Linked DNA regions of Homo sapiens: regions 1, 2, 3, 5, 6 and 7 are each linked to region 4. Evidence: promoter capture Hi-C in 16 types of primary human blood cells and fetal thymus (Javierre and others, 2016). All regions are on one chromosome and are shown on one strand. Each heading gives the region's core, a stretch centred on a gene start or on the middle of the fragment in contact. The rest is flanking DNA. Distances are from core to core; before and after follow the strand shown.

The links. The method cuts DNA at HindIII sites, captures the fragments that hold promoters and counts their contacts. A CHiCAGO score of 5 or more calls a contact.
Region 1: a fragment that was not itself captured here is called in contact with the fragment with the promoter of PPP3CC in region 4 in 4 of 17 cell types (naive CD8 T cells, endothelial precursors, non-activated CD4 T cells and 1 more); the score reaches 5.8 in naive CD8 T cells.
Region 2: a fragment that was not itself captured here is called in contact with the fragment with the promoter of PPP3CC in region 4 in 16 of 17 cell types (megakaryocytes, total CD8 T cells, endothelial precursors and 13 more); the score reaches 28.0 in megakaryocytes.
Region 3: a fragment that was not itself captured here is called in contact with the fragment with the promoter of PPP3CC in region 4 in 1 of 17 cell types (M1 macrophages); the score reaches 5.4 in M1 macrophages.
Region 5: a contact is called between a fragment that was not itself captured here and the fragment with the promoter of PPP3CC in region 4, in 1 of 17 cell types (total CD8 T cells). The highest score is 5.6, in total CD8 T cells.
Region 6: a fragment that was not itself captured here is called in contact with the fragment with the promoter of PPP3CC in region 4 in 1 of 17 cell types (endothelial precursors); the score reaches 6.1 in endothelial precursors.
Region 7: a contact is called between a fragment that was not itself captured here and the fragment with the promoter of PPP3CC in region 4, in 1 of 17 cell types (endothelial precursors). The highest score is 5.6, in endothelial precursors.

What each region holds. Positions count from the first base shown.
Region 1 is chr8:22,610,121-22,613,394 of GRCh38, reverse strand. CCAR2 (cell cycle and apoptosis regulator 2) reads right to left here. Exons shown (of 21, transcript NM_001393997.1): 8 at 259-378. Among named protein-coding and RNA genes, the nearest start is that of CCAR2, 7.0 kb to the right of the region's middle. The HindIII fragment of the contact is 2,403 bases long and covers 691-3,093 here.
Region 2 is chr8:22,572,835-22,576,035 of GRCh38, reverse strand. It overlaps SORBS3 (sorbin and SH3 domain containing 3), which reads right to left. Exons shown (of 21, transcript NM_005775.5): 21 at 248-1,369. The coding sequence ends at 1,308. Among named protein-coding and RNA genes, the nearest start is that of PDLIM2, 6.0 kb to the left of the region's middle. RefSeq lists a silencer at 1,451-1,600 and enhancers at 990-1,708, 2,774-3,201. The HindIII fragment of the contact is 257 bases long and covers 1,543-1,799 here.
Region 3 is chr8:22,662,616-22,665,835 of GRCh38, reverse strand. The region is part of intron 1 of BIN3 (bridging integrator 3); the gene reads left to right. Among named protein-coding and RNA genes, the nearest start is that of BIN3, 4.9 kb to the left of the region's middle. The HindIII fragment of the contact is 230 bases long and covers 1,433-1,662 here.
Region 4 is chr8:22,439,230-22,442,363 of GRCh38, reverse strand. It overlaps PPP3CC (protein phosphatase 3 catalytic subunit gamma), which reads right to left and starts at 1,286. Exons shown (of 14, transcript NM_005605.5): 1 at 906-1,286. The coding sequence starts at 954. RefSeq lists silencers at 764-1,423, 1,514-1,703. The HindIII fragment of the contact is 13,070 bases long and covers 1-3,134 here.
Region 5 is chr8:22,642,878-22,645,866 of GRCh38, reverse strand. BIN3 (bridging integrator 3) reads left to right here. Exons shown (of 9, transcript NM_018688.6): 2 at 1,064-1,112. Among named protein-coding and RNA genes, the nearest start is that of BIN3-IT1, 2.2 kb to the right of the region's middle. The HindIII fragment of the contact is 340 bases long and covers 1,184-1,523 here.
Region 6 is chr8:22,252,063-22,255,462 of GRCh38, reverse strand. It overlaps POLR3D (RNA polymerase III subunit D), which reads right to left. Exons shown (of 9, transcript NM_001722.3): 9 at 862-3,400. It overlaps PIWIL2-DT (PIWIL2 divergent transcript), which reads left to right. Exons shown (of 2, transcript NR_134293.1): 2 at 557-887. Among named protein-coding and RNA genes, the nearest start is that of POLR3D, 8.6 kb to the right of the region's middle. The HindIII fragment of the contact is 2,212 bases long and covers 338-2,549 here.
Region 7 is chr8:22,284,130-22,287,409 of GRCh38, reverse strand. It overlaps PIWIL2 (piwi like RNA-mediated gene silencing 2), which reads right to left. Exons shown (of 23, transcript NM_018068.5): 6 at 3,138-3,248. Among named protein-coding and RNA genes, the nearest start is that of PIWIL2, 10 kb to the right of the region's middle. The HindIII fragment of the contact is 3,099 bases long and covers 1-2,874 here.

The DNA.
Region 1 (3,274 bases), core at 643-3,142, 170 kb before region 4:
GAATACTGTGTAGTTGCTAAAAAAAAAAAAAAAAAAAAAGAACTAGATCTAATAAATGTTCATACGAAATAAAATCTAAAGTACATTCAGTGAAAAGGCAAACCACCAAACAGTATGTACAACAGGTTTCCATGTGCTTTTCGTTTTGTAAGAAAAGGCTGTAAGAACATACATGTGCACTTGCATAGACGCCATCTCATTTACATAAGAAACTATTACCAGCAGCAAGACTCAGCCCACCTCAGCCTCGCCACTCACCTGTCCACAGTGTAAGGAGTGAGGTGGACCCGGTAAGGAGGCAGGTCATGCCTTGGCTTCTTAGCACCCCAGGGCTCTCCACCAGCCCGCTGTTTGCGTTTCTTGGAGTCATAGTCATCACTAGAGGTTGACCCATCACCAACAGTAAGAAACCACATTGTTATATGTATTCAATACAAACTGAACTAAAAGAACTGGAAACAATCGAAATCCCTCACATTCAATAAATGGAAAAAGAATCCATGCTAACAGCCATATGACAGAATGTTATAAAGATATTAAAATGGATATTTACTGTTTTAATAAACATTCCTGTTAAGCAAAAAGCACACTCTGCAACATTGTATACACAGTAGGCCTCAGCTACTGCAAAAACAACTTTAGAAGACTGAAAGGAAATAAAATATTAATGATGGAAGCCTCTGGAAAGCTTACGAATAATTTTCTATTTTTCTGCACTTCATTAATTATAGTTAACGTGATTTTTTTGAAATGAGAAAAAAATGATTTTTCTTTTAAAAACAAGAGACGCATATATGGATCCATGCTATGCGTCCTTTAAAGTAAATTTGGCCGGGCGCGGTGGCTCACGCCTGTGATCCCAGCACTTTGGGAGGCCAAGGCGGGCAGATCACGAGGTCAAGAGATCGAGACCATCCTGGCCAACATGGTGAAACCCCGTCTCTACTAAAAATACAAAAATTAGCTGGGCCTGGTGGTGCGTGCCTGCAGTCCCAGCTACTTGGGAGGGTGAGGCAGGAGAATCGCTTGAACCCAGAAGGTAGAAGTTGCAGTGAGCCAAGGTTGCACCACTGCACTCCAGCCTGGTGACAGAGCAAGACTCCGTCTCAAAAAAAAAAAGTAAATTTTATTAGAAGAGACGGTTACAAGGCTGGGCGCGGTGGCTCACGCCTGTTATCCCAGCACTTAGGGAGGCCGAAGTGGGCGGATCACTTGAGGTCGGGAGTTCAAGACCAGCCTGGCCAACACGGTGAAACCCTATCTCTACTAAAAATACAAAAAAGTAGCCAGGTGTGGTTGCACACGTCTGTAATCCCAGCTACTCGGGAGACTGAGGCAAGGAGAATCGCTTGAACCGGGGAGGCGGAGGTGGCAGTGAGCCGAGATCGCGCCATTCCACTCCAGCCTGGGCAACAAAGCGATACTCTGTCTCACCAAAAAAAAAAAAAAGAGAGACAGTTACAAATCCTTAATAATACACATTAAAGTCATAAAAACACTCAAACCATTTGCTCCAGTAATTACACTCTTGAAAATTTGTCCCAAGAAAGTTAATTCAAAAGAAGAAGAAAGACTACACATAGTGGAAAAATATGAAGCAGCATAAACTGAGAGTAAAAAACCAAATACATACTCAGCAATACCCAAATTTTCATAGTAAATACAAACAATCACGCAGCCATTAAAACACTCAGGATTATGCTGCAATATGGAAAACTGTTTATAAATACACAAAAATAATTTGAACTGTAAGATTAAAATTGCAAAAAGTATGCACATGTATAGATAAAAACTAGAACACAGGAGAAAAGAGTGGCAAGAGATTTTCCTTTTCAAAATTATTTTCTAAAATTCTTTAATACCTACCTGTTAACAACAGTTACCTTTAAAGAGAAAGAAGGTAGAAACCACACATATTTTTACATATATATATACACACACACATATGTATACACACACACATATATACACACATATATACACACACATACACACACACACACACATATATATACTTTTTTTTTTTTTTTTTTTGAGACAGAGTCTTGCTCTGTTGCCCAGGCAGGAATGCAGTGGCGTGATCTCAGCTCACTGCAACTTCTGCCTCCCGGGTTCAAGCAATTCTCCTGCCTCAGCCTCCCGAGTAGCTGGGATTACAGGTACCCACCGCCATGCCTGGCTAATTTTTGTATTTTTAGTAGAGTCAGGGTTTCACCATCTTGGCCAGGCTGGTTTTGAACTCCTGACTTCAAGTAATCCGCCCGCCTCAGCCTCCCAAAGTGCTAGGATTACAGGCATGAGCCACCGCGCCTGGCCTACGTATTTATATTATTTTAATTTTATGTATTTATATTATTTTAATTTTATATAATAGCATGTACTGCTTTACACATTTTTATAATAAGTCACCACAGTATTACACTATAACTACGTTATAAGTGCAATAGATATGGGTACAATAAATAAAAATAGTTGAGGAGAAAAAACCTTTAGACCATTCATTATAACGTGCCAGACTGATAAGGGGAAAACCCCCCATGTCACATGAGAGAAATAAAACCCACTGCCATTTCTCTGTGCCTGGGTAACTGAGTTGATTGTATTCACCAGAAGGTTCTTGTTCTGCCTTTTAGACCTGCCTGGGTCATTTCCCTGTTCACACCCCAGTGACTAAGCTGAAGAGATTTATCATGATGCCTGCTCTTTTCTGTTGGCCTTGGTCACTTCCATGTGCATGAGCATCTCCATCCAAAAGTGGCCTTCTTCTCTAGCCCCGATGGGATGTCAGTAGCCCATGTTTCTAATAGAAGACCCATGCCAAAGCCACTTTGACAACTCTCCAGCTCGCAGGAATGCTGTCGGCCTCTAGCTAAACTGTTATGGTCCACTCAACGCTGTACACTGTGTGGCCACTTTCCTCCGCTTCCTGTACATTGTCAGGAGGTTGTAAGGCAGCACCAGGGGCTGACCTCTCAGGACTTGCAGCAGCAGAGCCCAGCTGGGTACACCTGTCTAAAAACCACAGCACAGCAGTAGCAGCTCAATGGAGACATTGTTCTCTGCATCCCAAAGCCAGGAATTCAAAATAAAGCTTGGCTTCCATGCAAAACATTAATGTGGCTGAGTCCTTCATAAATTAAAAGCTGAGAAACTAAATAAATAAATAAAAGTTGCTGCCCCAGAATGACCTACTTCCTACTACCCCTGGCCCCACTCTGCACATTCTCTCTACTGACGAATGGTAATATAATATCTCCCTCCCAATGGTAGTATA
Region 2 (3,201 bases), core at 422-2,921, 130 kb before region 4:
CAAAACACCCTTGTTCAAGAGGAGTTTTGGCTGGCTGTGCTTGACCACTCCCAGCTTCCCGCAAAGGATTGCTCAAAAGCCTGAGCCCAAAGAGGAGAATAAACACACACACACACACACACACACACACACAAGGGCTTCGGTGTGGAAACAGAGCACACAGAAGGAAAACAGCAGAATAGTTAGAAATGTCATCTAGCCCAGCAACCCCACGGTGGCAGCTCCAGAATCAAAACAGTCTGCAAACAAGGCCACATTCAGTCCCCCATCTCTGGTGTCTCCCTGCTACCAGGGCCTGGCACTGTTCATTCTCCCAGCACTTCTTGCCACACAGCTGCCCAATTGTGGGGGCTGCCGCAACCTGCCTGACACCCAAGGGCAGAGATCTTTGGAGGTAATAATGGTGTTTTTCCATCCTCCTCCTCTTACACACACACCTGTCCCACCTGTCTCCCAGCACAGCCCTCCACAGAAGGAATTCCCATCTCCTAGACAGGAGGAGGCATCCCCTACCCCAAGGAAAAGGCCGCAGAGACAAGGTCCCTTGTGTCCAGGTTTATTTTACATTCTCTTCCAGAGGGGATGTGGGGCTGGGGGAGAGCCAGCAGGCAGGCGGGCAGCACACAGCAGTCTCCCTGGGGAATATTTGAGCCAGGCTAGTGGTGCCTGGCCCCACAGTGCGGGGTGATATGCCAGGGCCAGGGCCAGGACTTGGCAGCCCCTGGGAAGAGGAGGCCTTGGGGCCAGAGCTCTTGCCAGGCCTAGATCGCTAAGAAGGTGCTGCGTCTGTCCCCCGCCTTGCTCCGCCCCCCCACACCCAGCTGGAGGCCAGAAGGCAAAGAGGGCAGCCAGCAAGCTGGGGTGCTGGGAGGAACCCCAGCAGGCGGGGGCGGCCTTTGGTCTCTACGAGGCTAGGAAGCTGGTTCTGGTTAGAGGAACCCCGTGGGGGCAAAGCGGAGAGCTGGTCCCTGTTAGAGGAAACGCTGGAGCAGGATGGGGGTGGGGGACTTGGGGTCTGGTCTCAATAAGGCCTGGAAATGGTCTCCGCTTCAAAGCAGACCTCTGTATTTGGGGAGTGGGGTGGGGAGGAAATGAAAGGGCTGTGGGAGGAATGCCTGTGAGTCGTGGGTGGGAATCAGTCCAGGGGGCTTCGAGGGGGGTCCGAGGGAAAGGCTGCGGGGGTCGTCTGCAGATGCTGGGAGCTCAGGTCCTGGGGAAGGAGGATGTGGGCGGGGGTCCTCTCCCTCCCACGAGTGCCACCGCTCCCCACCCCATCCTGGCTGGCTCCAAGTTGCCATGGAGACCACTCACACCGGGGCAACGTAATTTCCAGGGAACGTTCCGAATTTCTGGGTCCTCCGGGAGACACCTGAAAGAGGAAAGGCAGGAAGAGCTTTCCCCACTCCCTTCTTTAACAGGGATGCAGGGGTGAGGGCCTGCCCCCTGCCGGCAGTGCCCAGAACTGTAGGGGAGTTCTGTAGGGGAGCCCAGAGAGGGAATTGGATTTGCTCTCCTCCTTCCTGCCCCCTAGCGGCAGAAGCTTAGATGGGCAAAGCTACACTTCCCACACTCAACCACCAAAGAATCTGAGCAATCAACAAATGTGCATCACACTGTACACAGCAGAGTCACTCCCCCCCTCCTCCGCAAAGTGGGGACACAGGAGGAGGAATCACAGAACTGAAATCGGGAGAAACGTCCCTGGTCTAATAGGGCACCCTCACTTAGAGATGGGTGGGAAGGCCTATGGGAAGGCTGAATGCATTGCCCGAGAGCACCCCGACGCTTAGGAGTAAGCTTGGGACTCCGATCCAGGCCTCTCAGCCCCACAGAAACTCGTGTCTTGAAGAGGAGGAGGGGGGGGAACCCCAGCGGGCAAAGCATCTGGGGGGCCTGGCACCCGATGCTTCCCCAAAGCCAGCACTTCTGTTGGCTGCTTTCCTTCGTGCCATGAAGAGAAGGACGCCCTGGAGGAAACTGGCACCACCCCAGGGTCACTGATGGAGTCACTGGGGACCCAGGCCGGGGTTGCCGACCTTCAGAGCCCTGCCCCTTTTCCCTGCACACCCCTGCCTCTGGAGCAGCCCTTGGGGAGAGCGCCTGGTGGAAAGGACCAGGGCTCACACCTGTGTATCCCCACACCCCCCAGCTGGTTCCTCCAGCCTGGGAGGAAGAGGGAATGGAGAAATATAGAAATACAGAAATGTAATAAATATTATTATATTCCTATATATAGAAAAATAGGAATATAAACTGAAATGAACGTCACTCCTGACCTTGGGTGAATGGATGATCCTGGGCCTCCCCTTCCAGGCTGGCACCCTGACTTCCTTGGGGGCAGCCCGTGCTCGTCCCACCCCCACCCTCGTCCTCTGCCCCGAGTACCTCCCTTTCCTCTTGGCCTCCCCAAATCCTTCCCCTGCCCTTCCAGGCCCAGCTCCCTCATTTCCTCCAGGAAGCCTTCCCTGACCTGCACTAACTAAAATGGGCACCACTCGCCACCTGTGGCTGTTGGGCACTTGAGATGTGCCTGTGCAACTGAGGAACTGGATTTTTAATTTATTTCATTTGAGCTACATTTCAACAGCTGAATGCCGCCGGTGGCTGCCATACCGGAAAGGGCACAGGTCTCGCCCATTCCTCTCAAAGCGCTTGTGGCTCCTAATACAAAAGTGGTACTTTTTCTTCTTGTCTGCATAGGTTTGCAAAACTTTATTAGTAGTTGTAAAAAAATTCCAAAGCAAAAGTGTATCCAGTAAATTTGAATGCATCTCCAAGCACCGCCTCCCTCCCTCCCCCACTAGAAGGTAGGGGCCATTCACAGGCTAGTGCTTAATGGTCCTGGGTGGGTCAGTACAGCTGGCTGGCAGCTGTACTGGGATCAGATCAGGAAGGGTGGGCTGCCAGGTCAAGGGGCTGCCCAAGCAGCCCCCCAACTCCTCAGGCTTCAAAGCCTGCTTGGGGCAGGGCAGGGGGCTTCTGGCCACTCTCTTCTCTCTGGGGACGGCCCATCCTTTGAAGATGAGACCTGCACAGGGCCCGCCCACTCTGGGGAAAGAGGCCATGTGAAGCCTGGTGGGTTGGTCACCTTGATTCAGGCTGAGGCCAACCTGAGGCTTCCTGCATTTGTCCTTGGTCAGAGCTGCCCTTGGGCCAGCCCTGAGGGGCTGGGACCTTTCTCCATTCCCTCTTCCTCCCAGG
Region 3 (3,220 bases), core at 298-2,797, 220 kb before region 4:
ACACTTTGGTGTTCCTCATGTTTGATCCTTTTTGTTTCTTTCCTGTTTTCACCCTGTAGTCCCTTGCCATCATCTTCAGGATAGAGGCCCAACTCTGGGCCAGGGCTTCTGAGGCCCTCTGGGCCTGGCTGTCCATCTTCACTCCGTGTGTTCCATCCTCCAAGCTTCTCCTGCTCTCTCGTGCCCATGTGCCTCTGGATAACTGTCCCTTCTGCCTGAAATGTTTCCCCTTCACTCACACCCTGTCCACTAGGCCAGCATCTACTCATCCTTCAAGAGTCAGGCCACGCTTCACCTTCTCTGAGGGTCTTCCCTGAGTGGCCCCTCACACCCTGCCATGCTGCACTGGGTGCCGCTCTTCTGACCTTCATCAGCATCTGTACTCCGCTGGCTGGTTTACTTGTCTGTGAGTTCTTGAGTATGGGGACTGTCTTGTGGTCATTGCTATTCCCTAGCACTGTTCCTGGCAGTCAGGAAGTGTTTATTAAATATATGAATGGGGCCTTTTTTCCCTTTTCCTGACTTGCCTCAGCTCAGGAAAAATGTTAAGATAAAAACTTGCAGAACCTACAAACCACTTCCTAAAATGAAGAGCCTCTGAAAGTACTATTGTTAAATTGACCGACACAAGTGGCTTCCAGGTCAGGCTGCCTGTGATTTCTCCTCCCCACTCCTTCTGATCCTCCACTCCAAAGTGCTTTGCTGGGTTTCTTCTGTACTTCCATAGTGCTTCTCCTGTAGCACTTCTGCATCCTTCTGAGTATCACAGACGTACACCTCCCTTCCACACCAACCCCATGAGAACAGGAGCGACATAGAGCTTCTTCATCTTTTTGTACGCATAGTGGGTATCATGCACATAGTGGGTATCTAACAGGTAATTGTTAAATGAATGGAATATAAAGAAGGTAAACTTCTGGGTCAAACAAAACCATTATTCAGTTTTTTTCTCAGTGAAGTCCTTTCCCCTATGATTACCGTTGCTGTCTCACATGTGTAGAGTGCTTCTAACTTTTCAGATGGCTTTCCCGTCCTTTGTCTGACTTCATGCTTATGTCTGCGCAAGCAGTGCAGTCTTATGATCCCCCTTGGTAACTTACTAGAATTCACTCAGCTAGTACCTGGAAGAACTAGAACTAAAATGTGTCTCCTGAGTATTCTGTCCCCATGATCAGGAATATTAGAAGAGTAGCAGACCATTCCCAAGCTGATTGGATCACGGAGTTTCACTTTGCTAAGGTGTGTTGACACTAGCAGGTTGGTAGTGAATCACAGGGAGTTGACAGTCTTCACACATAAGTGATAGAGGAAGTCCTTGTGTCCTGCAGACCTCTAGGTGTTCTGTAACTGGCTCAGCTTCTTCCACCTATGGGGCCCCTGCCTAAGGCAGCCTCATCACTCATGTCCTCTGTGACTTTGGACACACCAAGCTTTTCTTCCTCTGTGGAGAGCATAGTAATGCCTTGAAGACAGGGGCCCTATAAAATGTCTGTGAGATTCTGTATGTGAGCTTGCTCTTATTTCAGGCGTTTAATGAGAGGAGAAGGATTTCTTCCAGATCTTGGAGCAGTCAGAAAGAGTCAAGTGTCTTGAGTCCCACAGCTACTTAGTCAGAGGTGTTATATGTATTATACTCTTTAAGGAAATCTGTCGGAGTAAGCTTTAGAGTCAGCTGTTAAACCTATTAGAATTGTTTTCCCAAACTCATGATTTTGGTGGCTAATCCATCAAATAGGGCCCAGTATAGTGTGATGCACATACATGGTGCTCAACAAATATTTGTTGATTTAATGCTTGTTCAACATTTATAATGTGCAAAAGTCTGTGCTAAATGTTGAGGAACATTTAAAAGACTTGCATGAGTCGATCTCTATCTTCAGCCGGTGTATGGAAAGTGCTAGGGATTCAAAAGGACAGCCGATCACTAAATGTCAGTATGGCATCATCAAGAAAGACTTGAAGCAGATGTAATTTTAACTGAACCTTGACTTAGCAAATACGTGCTGTTTCAGTGGGAGGGAGAGAAGGATCCAGGTAAGAAGCATGGCATGAAAAAGGTGTGTGGAGTCAGAATGCGTCAAGAGTGTTTGTGCGGACTGTCAGGAGGCCAGCTTGGAGGTGGTAAGTAGTGGTTTGGGTAGAGGCTGCATTGGGGAGAATTGGCACTCCACCTCAGGGCCACGTTATATAGTGCTTTCAGTGCCATGCTGAGGACTTGAAATTGAGCCTAGGCTTTTGGAAATTGAAGGCTTTTGAGCAGGGAAGTGGCATGGCCAAAGCAATGATTTAGTCAGATTATTTTGGCAGTGGCCTGCAGGATAACTCAGAAGAGAAAAAATGGAGCCAAGGATGCTAACTTGGACAATAGTTTCCTTTTTTTTTTTTTTTTTTTTTTAAACAAATCGGGGGGTCTCACTGTTGCCCAGGCTGGAGTGCAGTAGTGCAATTACAGCTCACCACAGTCTCAAACTCCTGGGCCCAGGCAATCCTTCTGCCTTAGCCTCCTGAGTGGCTGGGACTATAAGTGTTAGCCACCACACCTGGACTAGTTTCCACAATTTTTTGAACACAACTCACAGTTAGAAATACCTTTGATATCACAACTCACACACACACACACACACACACTTATACTTGAAATAAAAGTTTGACACAGTATGTGTGCAATGCACTCTGATATTTTCTATTATGTTCTTGTTCATGGTTTTTCGTTTTTTGAGACAGGCTCTTGCCCTGTTGCCCAGGCTGGAGTGCAGTGGTGCCATCTCAGCTCACTGCAACCTCTACTTCCCGGGTTGAAGCGATTCTCGTGCCTCAGCCTCCCAGATAGCTGGGATTACAGGCATGCACCACCATTTTTTAGTAGAGACTGAGTTTCGCTATGTTAGCCAGGCTGGTTTCTAACCTCTGGATTCAAGTAATCCACCCGTCTTGGCCTCCCAAAGTGCTGGGATTACAAGCATGAGCCACCGCGGCCAGCCTTGTTTGTTTTTTTAAAGAATGACCCACCTCAGTTGACTTTTTTTTTCTTTTTTTCTTCCTGAGGTGAGTGCATATGATTTTTTAATTTCATGACTGATTTTGATCTATGTATATAATGGAAGACTGTGTAGCAGTTTAAATGACCTTTGAGTGATAGATGTTCTGCAAAGACCTCAAGTTTGAAAACCATCTGTCTAAGAGTATCATTACAAATACTCAGACGATAAGCTAACACCTT
Region 4 (3,134 bases), core at 37-2,536:
CCACTGTCACGCTAACCCCTGCATCCAGAGGCCACTAACACAGCTGGTCTAAGTCTATTCCCTTCTTACAAAATAGCGCTTTCAAACCGATTGTTAATCTCAGAGAGAAGGGTTGTGCCTAAGACTTACGGCTGAATAAAAGCAGCACATAAATTAGTGGTTATGTGTAATCCATCTTCTTAGTTTAAAGGGAGAAACAACTATAACCTAAAACTCTACAAGATTTAGAGAGCAAAGAGCCCTTTACATTTTGTTCTTATAACAACAACAGAAATCTAACGCAGGTACACATATGAATCAGAAAACGTCATTCTCCAAGTCTTTATAACCAAAGGGAAAATAAAATACCATTACCCTGTCAAGAGCTCCGTAAACTTATTTTAAACATCATATAATGGATTTATCTGACTTGTTCATACTAAGTTTATTCCAGTAATAGCAGTGACTTGCAATGATCTAGAGAAAGCGGGTCAAAAGGCACATGGTATACGTCCTAAAAAAGGGTGGGGGGCGGACGTCAAGAAAGATCTAATCTTAAATATCTTACTTGGAAGAGTCGACTCCCTGCTCACACCACCCCCGATGGCTTCCCCCGAGTCGTTTCTTAAAGAGAAAAAAAGACAGGGATCCGGGCCCTTCGGGGCGGTGGGAGAAGAAGTCCCCACTGCACCCTGAACCCTTCGGGAGGGAACTTGGCACTGACGGCCAGGCACCTGACCAGGTGCAGCAGAAAACGCCGGGTCCGGGTGGCTGCTCTCGGAGGCTGCCGCCCGGCTCTGTCTACACCCCTCCGAGCCCTCCTAGGGTGGGCGCAGCCCGGCCCCAGCCTCCCTCCGCCCCGAGCCGCCGCCCAGCCGAAGGCCGTTTCCCGCGGGTCCCAGAGGAAGGCCCGGCCCGCCAGGCACCTTTGATGACGCGGTCGGTGGTGGAGAGGTGGAAGCGCCTCCCGGACATGGTCCCCTCGGCCTCCTCCAGGCTCCAGGAGCCCGCCGGACGTGCGCCTACGCCGCGGCCGCCGCCTTCTCCTCGGGCAGCCTTAGCTGCCCGGAGCCGTCAGCCAGCCGTGCCCGGCCCCGGCTCCTCAGCGGTGTCCGAGCACCAGAAGGGCGCGGCCACCGCAGCGCCGGCCTCCGACGCCACTGACAGGACGAGGGCCCACCGGCCGCTCTCTTGGGAGGCGCCAGCGGCTAAGGCGGGGAACACCGCTTCGGCACCGACCGCGACCGCTGCTAAGGGTGGCGACCGGGACGGCCGCGGCTGCTCGCGGCCCGGGCCCTCGTGCACGCAAGCGCGCCCCCGAGCGCCGCTCTCACAACTTCCCAGCGGCCCCGCTGTCCTAGCGGACCCGGCCGGGCCTCCCGCCCCGAGCGCCGCCCTCCCCACCCTTCCGCCTTCCCGCGAGGCAGTAGAGCTCGGCGCACGCGCTGCTCTCGGCTCCTCCGGCTCCGGGTCCCTGCTGCTAACCGCCCATTTTCGCTTCTTCTCAGCCAGCCCTCCCCGCAGCCGGCCCCTTCTCTCCTGCCAGCCCCTACCCGGGCCCGGAACATCTGAAACCCGCCCGCGTGGCCCGCGCGACCCGCGCGGGAGGCCGGCCCGGCCATCTTGCGACCCGGCCCTGCGGCCTCGCAGCGGCTCCGCGCCGCCTCCTGGGACCGCCTCGCCGAGAACCCCTGGCCTCCCAGTCCTCGCCCACAGGCGACCACCCTCCTCACCTCTGGGTCTCCCACCCGCTTTGTCTCAAGGAGTGTGATCAGTCCGGCCGCGCTCCTTCAGTTTTTGTGGGTCATTCAACAAACGCACACATTTAAACCCCCTCGCTTCATCTTTCCCGCTTGTTGAGTGCAGTTAGTACAATGAGAAGGACATTCGTGTCCATCCTAGTTCCAGTCCAGTAGCTAGGGCGGTGGGGGATTGGGGGAGCTCCGTTTCTGAGCAAGGCTCTGCTCCCTCCTCACTTTCCACATCGAAGAGAAGGGAGATCTCTGCTCCTGGGACCCCCGGGCCGGACCTCCTCGGCCACAAGAACTGACCTCTTCCTATGCCCTGTGTGTCACCTGCCCAGCTAGAAGCCCCTTTTTTCTTCCCCCTGACACAGTACCTGCCTCCCCGGCCCAGGCTCACTGTGGAACCCCATGGGCAAGTCCGTAGAAACTTAACAGTCTGTTCATCTCGAGGTTAAAAACTAACCTTTATCTGTCCTTAAAACTGTAAGCCTAGAACAGAAACTGGCTCCAACTGTCCTCTCACTGAGTAACTGGCAAAGTCAAAAGGATTTTGACTTTTAGCAATGCAAATGAAATATTGAAACTGATGTCCAATAAAACATATGCAAGTTACAGGCAAAACCAGTCTTAACAATTACCGCAGTGACCGATAAGTAGTTGTAGCTATGTAAATTTAAATTAATCCCGTTCCTCTAGGGGACTAGCCACATTTCAAGTGTTCAAGAGCTACACGCGGCTACCTTATTGGACATCCAGAAAATTCTACTGGACAGCTGTTAGGTAAAAGATTATAGGATTAAGCGTAAATCTCCAATAATATGGATTTATGTATAGGCGGTCTGGGGATATATAGTGGAATCAGACCCTGAATTATCCCTTGGAATTTTGACCATAGCTCTTTGATGGTAACCGCAGGAGGCAAAAGGACTTTAGGAGCCGACTAGAATTTGGTTTTCGTTTTCATGATCCTTGAGTCTTCCACCCAAGAGAATTGTTCAGATATCCTGGGGAAACTCTTCATTTAAGAAGTAACCAGAACTCCACGCCTATCAAATCATACCCCTGGGTCAGAGGCTAAAATTCATCTGGAAGAACCTCAACAGGATAGCTAAAAATAAAAAGTTTAAGAAAACATTGCGGGCCGGCAAAAAAGAAAAAAAAAAAGACCGGGTGGGGTGGCTCACGCCTGTAATCCCAGCACTTTGGGAGGCCGAGGTGGGTGGATCACGAGGTCAGGAGATCGAGGCCATCCTGGCTAACACGGTGCAACCCCGTCTCTACTAAAAATACAAAAAATTAGCCGGGCGTGGTGGCAGGCGCCTGTAGTCCTAGCTACTTGGAAGACTAAGGCAGGAGAATGGCGTGAACCCGGGAGGCGGAGCTTGCAGTGAGCCGAGATCGCGCCACTGC
Region 5 (2,989 bases), core at 104-2,603, 200 kb before region 4:
TCCCAGGGAAATAATCCAGCCCGGCCAATCACTAATGCCTCTGTTATTTATTAACTCTCCCCAGCCTCCAAAGAAGATTTGCAGATCCAAAGTTTGCCCCTCTATAGAGAAGTAGCAAAGCACCTAATATAGACCATAATGATTCGTGATTTCAAGGATGATAGCTATTACAGTGAGTCTGTAATTTCTGAGTTTGCACCTCCTCAAGACACAAGGTTTTATTGTCATTCACAGGGTGTCTTCCCTTTCCTGCCATCCTCGCGGGTGTCTTCCCTTTCCTGCCATCCTCGCCTTTCCTCTCTTCCCCTTTCCTTTCCTTTCCTTTCCTTTCCTCCCCCTCCCCTTCCCCTTTCTTCCCTTCTGTTCCCTTCCTTTATCTCTTTAAAAGACAGGGTCTCCCTCTGTTGCCCAGGCTAGGGTGCAGTGGTATGATCATAATTCACTGCAGCCTCAAACTCCTGGGCTTAAGTGATCCTCCTGCTTCAGCCTCTCAAGTGACTGGGACTACAGGCATGTGCCACCACGCCCGGCTAATTTTTGGTGGTTGTTTTTTTGTGTTTTTTTTTTTGAGATAGGATCTTGCTATATTGCCCAGTCTAGTCTTGAACTCCTGGCTCAAGCAGTCCTCCACCTGGGCCTCCCAAAGTGCTGGGATTGCAGGTATGAGCTGCCATACCCAGCGGATTTTTTTTTTTTTTTTTGGAGATAGGGTCTTGCTCTGTCGCTTAGGCTAGAGAACAGTGGTGCAATTATAGGTCACTACAGCCTCAAACTCCTTGGCCTCACCTTTTCATTTTCTTTAAATGACAGACTATCAGTAGCAAAGATGTTCTGGGGCAGAGCAACCTGCATCTGACACTGTAGGTGGGAGGACCTATCTCTCTCTTAGAACCAAGCCCAGATGCCAATGGTTGTATGCCCACCAGGGCACATGGTCCAAGTAGCAAGCCATGGCCACGCTTCCTCGCCCTCCTGGGGGAAAGTGGCCTGTACTGTACTGATACTTTGAGCTGCATCCTTCCCCACTTCTCACAATATCTCTCTTTGTCTCTTTCTCTTATAGGATTCCTTTTAAGATTGGGCAGCCCAAGAAACAGATTGTGCCCAAAACAGTGAGTAACTCGATTGTTTTGCTGTGAGATTCAGTTCTGTATCACATGGCCTTTGCATAAGAATCAAAGCTTTGAATCAACACATCTTGGGGCTGGGAAGACAGCAACCTGGGCCTTCTTCCTGCTTATGCGGATCTAGAACCTCACATAGACTGAGGCTTAGAGGGGCCTCCTGTCCTGGGACACTTCCCCTAGGAAAGGTTAGCCTGGGCTCTTTATCATCCTTGGGCAGGGGGAATGGGTGGATTACAAAAATGTAGAGGAAGATATTGCTTTAGAACGGTCCACCTCTAGGGACTGGCTTGTGGTCTATACTTTTCCTAAGAGTGTTCCTGAAAGAGTGGCCCCCACCAAAGACACTGCCCAGGCATTTATTTCTGTTACCTCAGCTGCAGAAAACTCCAGGAAGCTTTTCCCAGTGGCCTCGGCCTGTTTGTGTCAACTTCCAAATGCATTCTTGGCCATGACCCAGAGTCACTCAGCAGGAAAGGAAGATTGAATCCCACCCCCCTTTAAGCCCACAGTTTTTATCCCTAGAAAGTTTTTATCTCCAGAATGGGAAAGGAAGAGAATCATAGATTCTTAGGAAGTTAGAGCTGGAAGCTCATAGAGACCATCTAGTCCAACCTCCTGATTTTTCCTGATGAAGAAAATGAGGCCCGTGGAAAGTTGCAATGACTTCCTCAAGTTATAAAAACCCCACACTGGCAAAGCTGGAGTTAGAACTCAGGCGTGAGCCCCTGGCTGATACTCTTTCCATTGCCTCATGCTTCCCTGGGCAGTGAAGCCCTCCCAGTGTTTTGGAATCCCGGTGCAAAATAGCCTTTTCAACCTCCTGACCCACAAATCTGAGTGGGTCTCTTGGTTTTAACATGGGAGACCACAACTGTAGAGCCTCTCTGATGTGACAGCTACAGGAAGTCCGGTGCTGTGCTGGCGGCAGAGGCCCTCGTCTGTCATCCCAGCCCCTGACGGTTCTCCTTGTCTTACTAGCTTCTCCCCTCCTTGGCAGAGCTCTCAAAAGTACAGGAAAGAGATTGCTTCAGTGTGGTGAGAAGTTTGGCACACATCTGACCAATGGCTCCATCTCTAGCAAATCCAGAGTAAGGTCACTTGAGAGGAAACAGGCCCAAGTTAAAAGCACCCTCACAGGGTCCAGTGGCTTACGCCTGTAATCCAACACTTTGGAAGGCCAACGTGGGGGCATCATTTCAAGCAAGAAGTTTGAGACCAGCCTGGGCAACAAAGAGAGACCCCGACTCTACCAAAAAATATGCACGCCTGTAGTCCCAGCTACTTGGGAGGCTAAAGCAGGAGGACTGCTTGAGCGCACGAGTTCGAGGCCACAGTGAGCTCTGATTGCACCACTGCACTCCACCCTAGGTGATAGACTGAGACCCTGTCTGTTAAAAAAAAAAGTTGGGGGGTGGGGCCTCTCTGCTTCATGCAGAGGCAGGGTGCTGACCAACTCAGCGCTGACCTCTCATGCAGAGGCTGACCATCTGTGGAGGCTCTCAGCTGAAGTCCAAAGAATCTGGGTGTGCATATGTTGGTCTCTAGCCGGCTGCAGGAAGTGGGAAGGTGTGGCTTTGAGTCTCCAGAGTTTAATCCATGACAGATCTGAAAGGGAAGTGGTTTCAAGAGGGTTCTTTTATTCTGAATGCTCACTACAAACAAAAACCCTCCCAGCACCCCAACCTTTATCAAAATGAACTTTGTTCTCCACAGAAAGTGTAGACAAACCAGCTGCTTTGCCAGTGTGTTGGTGGCAAGATCTCTGGCTCCGTTGATCTAAGGAGTGGCAAGGACTCGCAGTGCGGGCAGATGCACACAGGGCATCCCTCTTCCCTTCCTCGCATCTGTCTCGCTGGAGATGG
Region 6 (3,400 bases), core at 194-2,693, 190 kb after region 4:
TTTTCTTTTTCTTTCATGTAAGCTTTCTATTTTTTTTTTTTTTTTTCTGAGATGGAGTTTCACTCTTGTTGCCCAGGCTGGAGTGCAATGGCGTGATCTTGGCTCACCGCAACCTCCGCCTCCCAGGTTCAAGCAATTCTCCTGCCTCAGCCTCCCAAGTAGCTGGGATTACAGGCATGCACCACCACGCCCAGCTAATTTTGTATTTTTACTAGAGACGGGGTTTCTCCATGTTGAGGCTGGTCTCGAACTCCTGACCTCAGGTGATCCGCCCACCTTGGCCTCCCAAAGTGCTGGGATTACAGGTGTGAGCCACTGCGCCTGGCCCATGTAAGCTTTCTTAAGATGTAAAGACTGCATTTTTTTTCTGACTATATCTTAAATGTAGATGAGCCAAGTAACAAAGTCCAACTTCTGACTCAGTTTTTGGGAAGACAGATCAGTGGTTACCCCAATGGAAGGGAACAGAAGAAATGCTTTAGAAGAGCTGAGGCAGAAAGTGGCCATGCAGAGGGCTCCTAGAACTGGTGTCCCATCACCATCTCTGTTTTTTCAGATGACACCCCTAAGACCTGAGCCCCTTCTGGGCCCCACACTCCACCTGTAGAACTCTGATGGGGCCTTGTGCGGCCGAACCACAATCCAAGAGAGGTGTTCACATCATGTGTCGCTAGCCACAGCCATCTCAAGGGGAAATGCCCCAAATGTAGAAGTATCTGACACCAGGACTGGGGGTTGGAGCACTGGATGAACAGCGTGTGTGCCACTCTTTCACTGTGCACCGTCCTAAGAAAGAAGCCTGTTTCCCTTTGAAGAGCCTAGTGCTGACTGCCCAATTCAATCGGACCACGCAGGGCAGTCTGAGGATTAAAAGATGCTACCTTTAATTCCTTCGGCTAATTCAGAAGTATGTGAAACACAACATACTCATTAACATGGAAGAACTGGATGTGTGTGCATGTGGGTGTGTATTATTTATTTTTCAGAGACAAGGTTTCACCATGTTGCCCAGGCTGGTCTTGAACTCCTGGGCTCAAGTGATCCTCCCACCTCAGCTCCAGAGTAGCTGGGAACGAAGAATTGTATGTATTTCTGAGTGAGATAGAGTACACGATAAAACCACATAATTTATATCATTATAAATAACATACAAAATTTTGGAGGCTGAAATAATATACATGAGCAGTCATAAAATACAATGAAATCATGTGCTTTGCAGCCACATGGATGGAGCTTGAGGTAATTATCCTAACCTCGGAAACAGAAAATCAAATAGCACATGTTCTCACTTATAAGTGGGAGCTAAATAATGGGTACCTATGGACATAAAGATGGAAATAGCAAACACTGGGCACTCCAAAAGGGGGTGAGTGGGAGGGGGGGCAAGGGTTGAAATGCTACCTGAGTACAATGTTCACTATTTGGGTGATAGGTATGACAGAAGCCCAATCCCCACCAGTACGCAATATACACAAACACGCACATGTGGCTGGGCGCAGTGGCTCACGCCTGTAATCCCAGCACTTGGGAGGCTGAGGCAGGTAGATCACTTGAGGTGAGGAGTTTGAGACCAGCCTGGCCAACATGGTGAAACTCCCGTCTCTACTAAAAATACAAAAATTAGCCAGGTGTGGTGGCATGTGCCTGTAATCCCAGCTATCTGGGGGGCTGAGGCGGGAGGATCACTTGAACCTGGGAGACAGAGTTGCAGTAAGCCAAGATCACACCACTGGGCGACAGAGTGAGACTCCATCTCAAAAAACAAAACAGAACAAAACAAAACAAAACAAAACTAACATGCTCATGTACCTGCTGAATCTAAAATAAAATAATATACACTAAAATGTTAAAATTGATTTTAGTAGAATAAAAGGTGACTGAATATTTTAAAAAGTTATGCCTAGATGAATACTTTATGATTTTACATTGCAGCATTTTTTGAACATGGCAGCAGCTACTATGAATTGTCTATCCAACTGCCACTCCAGCTTCCTCCCTACTAACAAAACCCCAGCTCAAGGGCAAGTGTGCTCAGTGCCAGGGGATACACTAGTCGACCCATCCCCCTTTGCCAGGGCCTGGTCCAAGAGTGGGCACGTGGCCCCACTCTATAAAGAGACAGGGGGGAGGTTGCTGGAGCTGCTGACGGTTATTCCCGGATAAGGGCAGAATGAGAAGGCTCCTGTACTACTGTCCACTCTGGCTGTGGACACCATCATTTGCAGAATGATGCTTGGCGCAGGAGCAGCCATTCTGCAATACTGAGGATGGCAAAGCAGACGGTTCCAAGGAAATCCTGATGACATTTTGGCTTCCACCCAACTCTAGAACCATCTATTTACAGACTTTTTGCTATGTGAGATAAACATTCCCATTGCTTAAGCCACCGTCAGGCTAATTTTCTGTTACTTGTGCTGATCACATCCTGTTATAGGCAGTTATCTGTCTGGCACCGAATAAATGCCTCATGTTCACTCTAATTTAAAAGCAACCCTATTAAGCTACTACTGTCTCACTCTTACATAAAATAAAATAAATAAAATCAAGCTTAAAGAGGATAAGTGATTTTTTCCAACCAAAGTTACTGGTGGAGTCAGATTCAAACCCAACCGTGACTCGACAGCCTGGACTCTGCCACTTAAACATGTAGTTAGAAAAGTGTGCAAGCCTATTGTTCCTTCTTTCTGTATTTAACAGAAAGCATATACACAGATGCAGGGAGCAACAAATTTGCATCCACTTGCACTCATGTATAAATTTGGCTTTGGGCTCTTCTCCTCTGTCATCTGTCCATATTCCTTGGTAGAAATGCATGCCTCAGGGGCCTGACCAAGAAGGTGGACTCTCCTCTCTTTTCCCACACTTATTAATAAGACCTAATTTGTGCATCAGGGATCTGAGACAGGTTGTGAGGACTTTGATACGGAGTCATAAGGTTCAAGCCAAGACATCTGAATGGGCGAAATGAACGTGAAAGCAGTACATGTTCTTCCTCAAACTTTCTTGGAAGGGTCAGAAAACAGAAGATTGAAAAATACCCAATATCTAACATCGGGCCATTGAGTTCGTCCAAAAAAAGCAGAAGAGTATTTCTGAACCAAAGAAACAGAATAGAAAGAGAGGATGAGAATGGAGACCTGCTGGCCGTGCATCAGCTATTTAAAGGAAGAAAGGGCTGGAGCCCAGAGTTAACCAAAGCTTAGCCTTAGACCAAACAGGGCTTCCCAGCACAGGTTTCCAAGGAACCCTTTCTGCTCCAGTCCTCTACAGTGAGAAGAGCCCAGAATAACACTGTCCAATGGAGCTGACATGAGCTTCAGCACCAGAAAGGGTGATATGGTCACCAAATATTCAGTCAGCCTCACAGCTGCTGGCTGGGCAGGTTGAGGGCTTTGTAGGA
Region 7 (3,280 bases), core at 76-2,575, 150 kb after region 4:
AATTATCTATCTGCCTAGAACTTTGACTCAAGAAGACCTGCTCGCAGCTGAAACATCAGAAACCATAGGTCATAAAAAAATAAAAACCACCAAATCCTACCACCAAAGGACACCTGCCTTAGCACGTCAGTGTATATTCTTTCATATATACACATTTGTTTTTGAGACGGAGTCTCGCTCTGCCGCCCAGGCTGGAGTGCAGTGAAGCCATCTCAGCTCACTGCAATCTCCACCTCCCAAGTTCAAGTGACTCTCCCTTTGTTTCCTTAACATTTGTCACTCCATTTTAAGAGGAAGACTTCTCCCCATCTCCCTTTTTTTTTTTGAGATAGGGTCTTCCTTTGTCACCCAGGCTGAAGTACACTGGCATGATCATAGCTCACTGCCATCTCAAACTCCTGGGCTCAAGTGATCCTTCTGCCTCAGTCCCCCAAGTAACTGGGACTATAAGGGTACCACCACACCTGACTAAAAAAAAATTTTTTTTTGCCCTGGCTCGGTGGCTCATGCCTGTAATCCCAGCACTTTGGGAGGCCGAGGTGGGTGATCACTTGAGGCCAGGAGTTCAAGATCACTCTGGCCATCACGGTGAAACCCTGTTCTACTAAAAATACAAAAAAATTAGTGGGGTGTGGTGGCATGTGGTTGTAATCCCAGTTACTCGGGAGGCTGAGGCATGAGAATCATTTCAGCCTGGGAGATGGAGGTAGCACTGAGGCAAGACTGTGCCACTGCACTCCGGCCTGCGCAACAGAGTGAGACTCTGTCTCAAAATAAATAAATAAATAAAATTTTTTGTTGTTGTTACCTAAGACAGTCTGGAACTCCTAGCCTCAAGCAACTCTCCCTCCTCGGCCTCCCTAAGTGCTGGGATTACAGACGTGAGCCACTGCATGCAGCCCTCTCCCCTCTGTTTAATGCTCACCTCTTTGCTGTATGTTTCACAACAAGCCTGTTTCCTGGGATCCAATTTCCCCCACTTTTCTGGCTACTTCCCTCTACCTGTTGTATGTGCTCAGCTCCGCTTTCTTACCTCATAGAAACTATTACAGCAATCCTGTTGCCTTCTATAATTATTCCATTTCTCATTCCTCTTATAAACTTTTTAAATGAGTGGCCAAGTCAGTGGCTACTTCTCATGGCCTATGCCCTCCTTTGTGCTTTTCATCTTTCCTTTTTTTTCTCTACAACTGTAACAAAACTGCTAGAAGATCACAACACCCTCAACAAGCAAATTCAGTTGCTTTTTTTCCTGTGGCCAAAGTCAACCACCTTCTCATTACCTTCATTCAAAAGAGTCCTTCCTTTGGTCTTTATAACATACCTTCAGAATATTTTCTCCCTAACTGTTCCTTTCTCCTCTCTTTCACTCCACTTCTTCCTCTTGTGTCATCAACTAGCAGCTGCCCTTCACAAATTCAGCCTTCCTAGTATAGCTACCTTTAGAAATAGTATAGAAGTTTCTGGCCAGGCATGGTGGCTCATGCCGGTAATCCCAGCACTTTGGGAGGCCGAGGCAGGTGGATTACTTGAGGTCAGGAGTTTGAGACCAGCCTGGTCGACATGGCAAAACCCCGACTCTACTAAAAAAAATACAAAAATTAGCCAGGCATGGGGGCGCTTGCCTATAATCCCAGCTACTAGGGAGGCTGAGGCAAGAGAATTGCTTGAACCTTGGAGGCAGAGGTTGCAGTGAGCTGAGATTGCACCACTGCACTCCAGCCTGGGTGACAGATTGAGACCCTGTCTCAAAAGAAAAAAAAAAGAAATAGTATGGAAGTTTCTTAAAAAAACTAAAAATAGTACTAATATGATCCAACAATCCCACTTCTTGGTATTTATCCAAAGGAATTGAAATCAGTGTGTCAAAGAGATATATGTGCACTCCCATGTTCACTGCAGCACTGTTCACAACAGGCAAGACGTGGAATCAATCTAAGTGTCCACTGAATGGATAAAGTGGTATACATACACAACGGAATACTATATAGCCTTTAAAAAGAAGTACATCCTGTCATATGTGACAGTATGAAAGGATCTGGAGAGTATTATGGTAAGTGAAATAAGATAGGCACAGAAAGACAAATACCATCTGATCTCACTCATATATGGAATCTAAAAAAGTTGAACTCATTGTGAACAGAGAGTAGGAAGGTGGCTACCAGAGGCTGGGGGTTGAGGGGTATGGAGAAATGGCAGATGTTGGTTAAAATGTACAAAGTTTCAGATAGACAGGTGGAGTAAGTTTTAGTGATCTATGGTAACCATAGTTAACAACAGCGTGTATTTCAAAATTCCTGAAAGAGATTTTAAATGTTTTCACCACAAAAAAACAGTAAGTAGGTGAGGTGACACATATGTCAATTAGCCTGACTTAATCTTTCTACAATGTATACATATACCAAAACATCATCTTGTACTCATACATATACACAATTATTTTTCAGTTAAAAAAACTGAGACTTCATCTTCTCATTTTCTTCACAGGTATTTCAAAACACTCATTTTCACAATTCCAGCTAAGAACTTCCAGCTAATGACTCCTCTAAGATATTAAGAGAGAACACAAACTAATATAAACTATTTTTAAATAGTAATAAATCCTAAAATTATTGATATAAAACTGCAGTTATCTTCCTTCATTTTTCTCACCCCTAAATTTAACCCTAGACTGTCACTAGAGAGATGTCAGATGTTGGTATGATGGCTCATGCAGGAAAGGATCCAGGTTTCATAGGGCATGGATTTCACACCACTGATGGGGGAGGGGGGAGGGTTCTTTAAGAAAAAGAATACAAAATTACACATACAAAATAAGTTAAAAGATCATGGAAGACACCTAATGCAAGTTTTAAAAGGCCCTGAACTTAAGCTTCATTAATTTCACATTAAATTAACTTCTAGCCTCATGTATAAATCTACACCCTATGAAGTTAAAATCGAGATTGGTAATATAGCTAAATACATACACAAAGTTTAAGATTAACCTTAAACTTCCTGTAAGGATCTGAGTAAACACATTATTGCATTGAGACGTCCACCAGGAACTGTCCAGGACAATATTCAGTTATTCCAGGGGAACTATTTTTTTTACTGCCCTTTAAGAAGTGAACAATACAAAGGAAAGCTGTGAATACCTGAAAGTCACATGATATTGATAAACTGCTTCATTATGACACTGTATTTTGACGAGGTTCAGTCCCAAAGACTGAGGTGTTCCTTTTGATCCTTGCTTCACAATAAGCTCTCTAGAAAATAAAAACAAAAAGCAACTGCATAT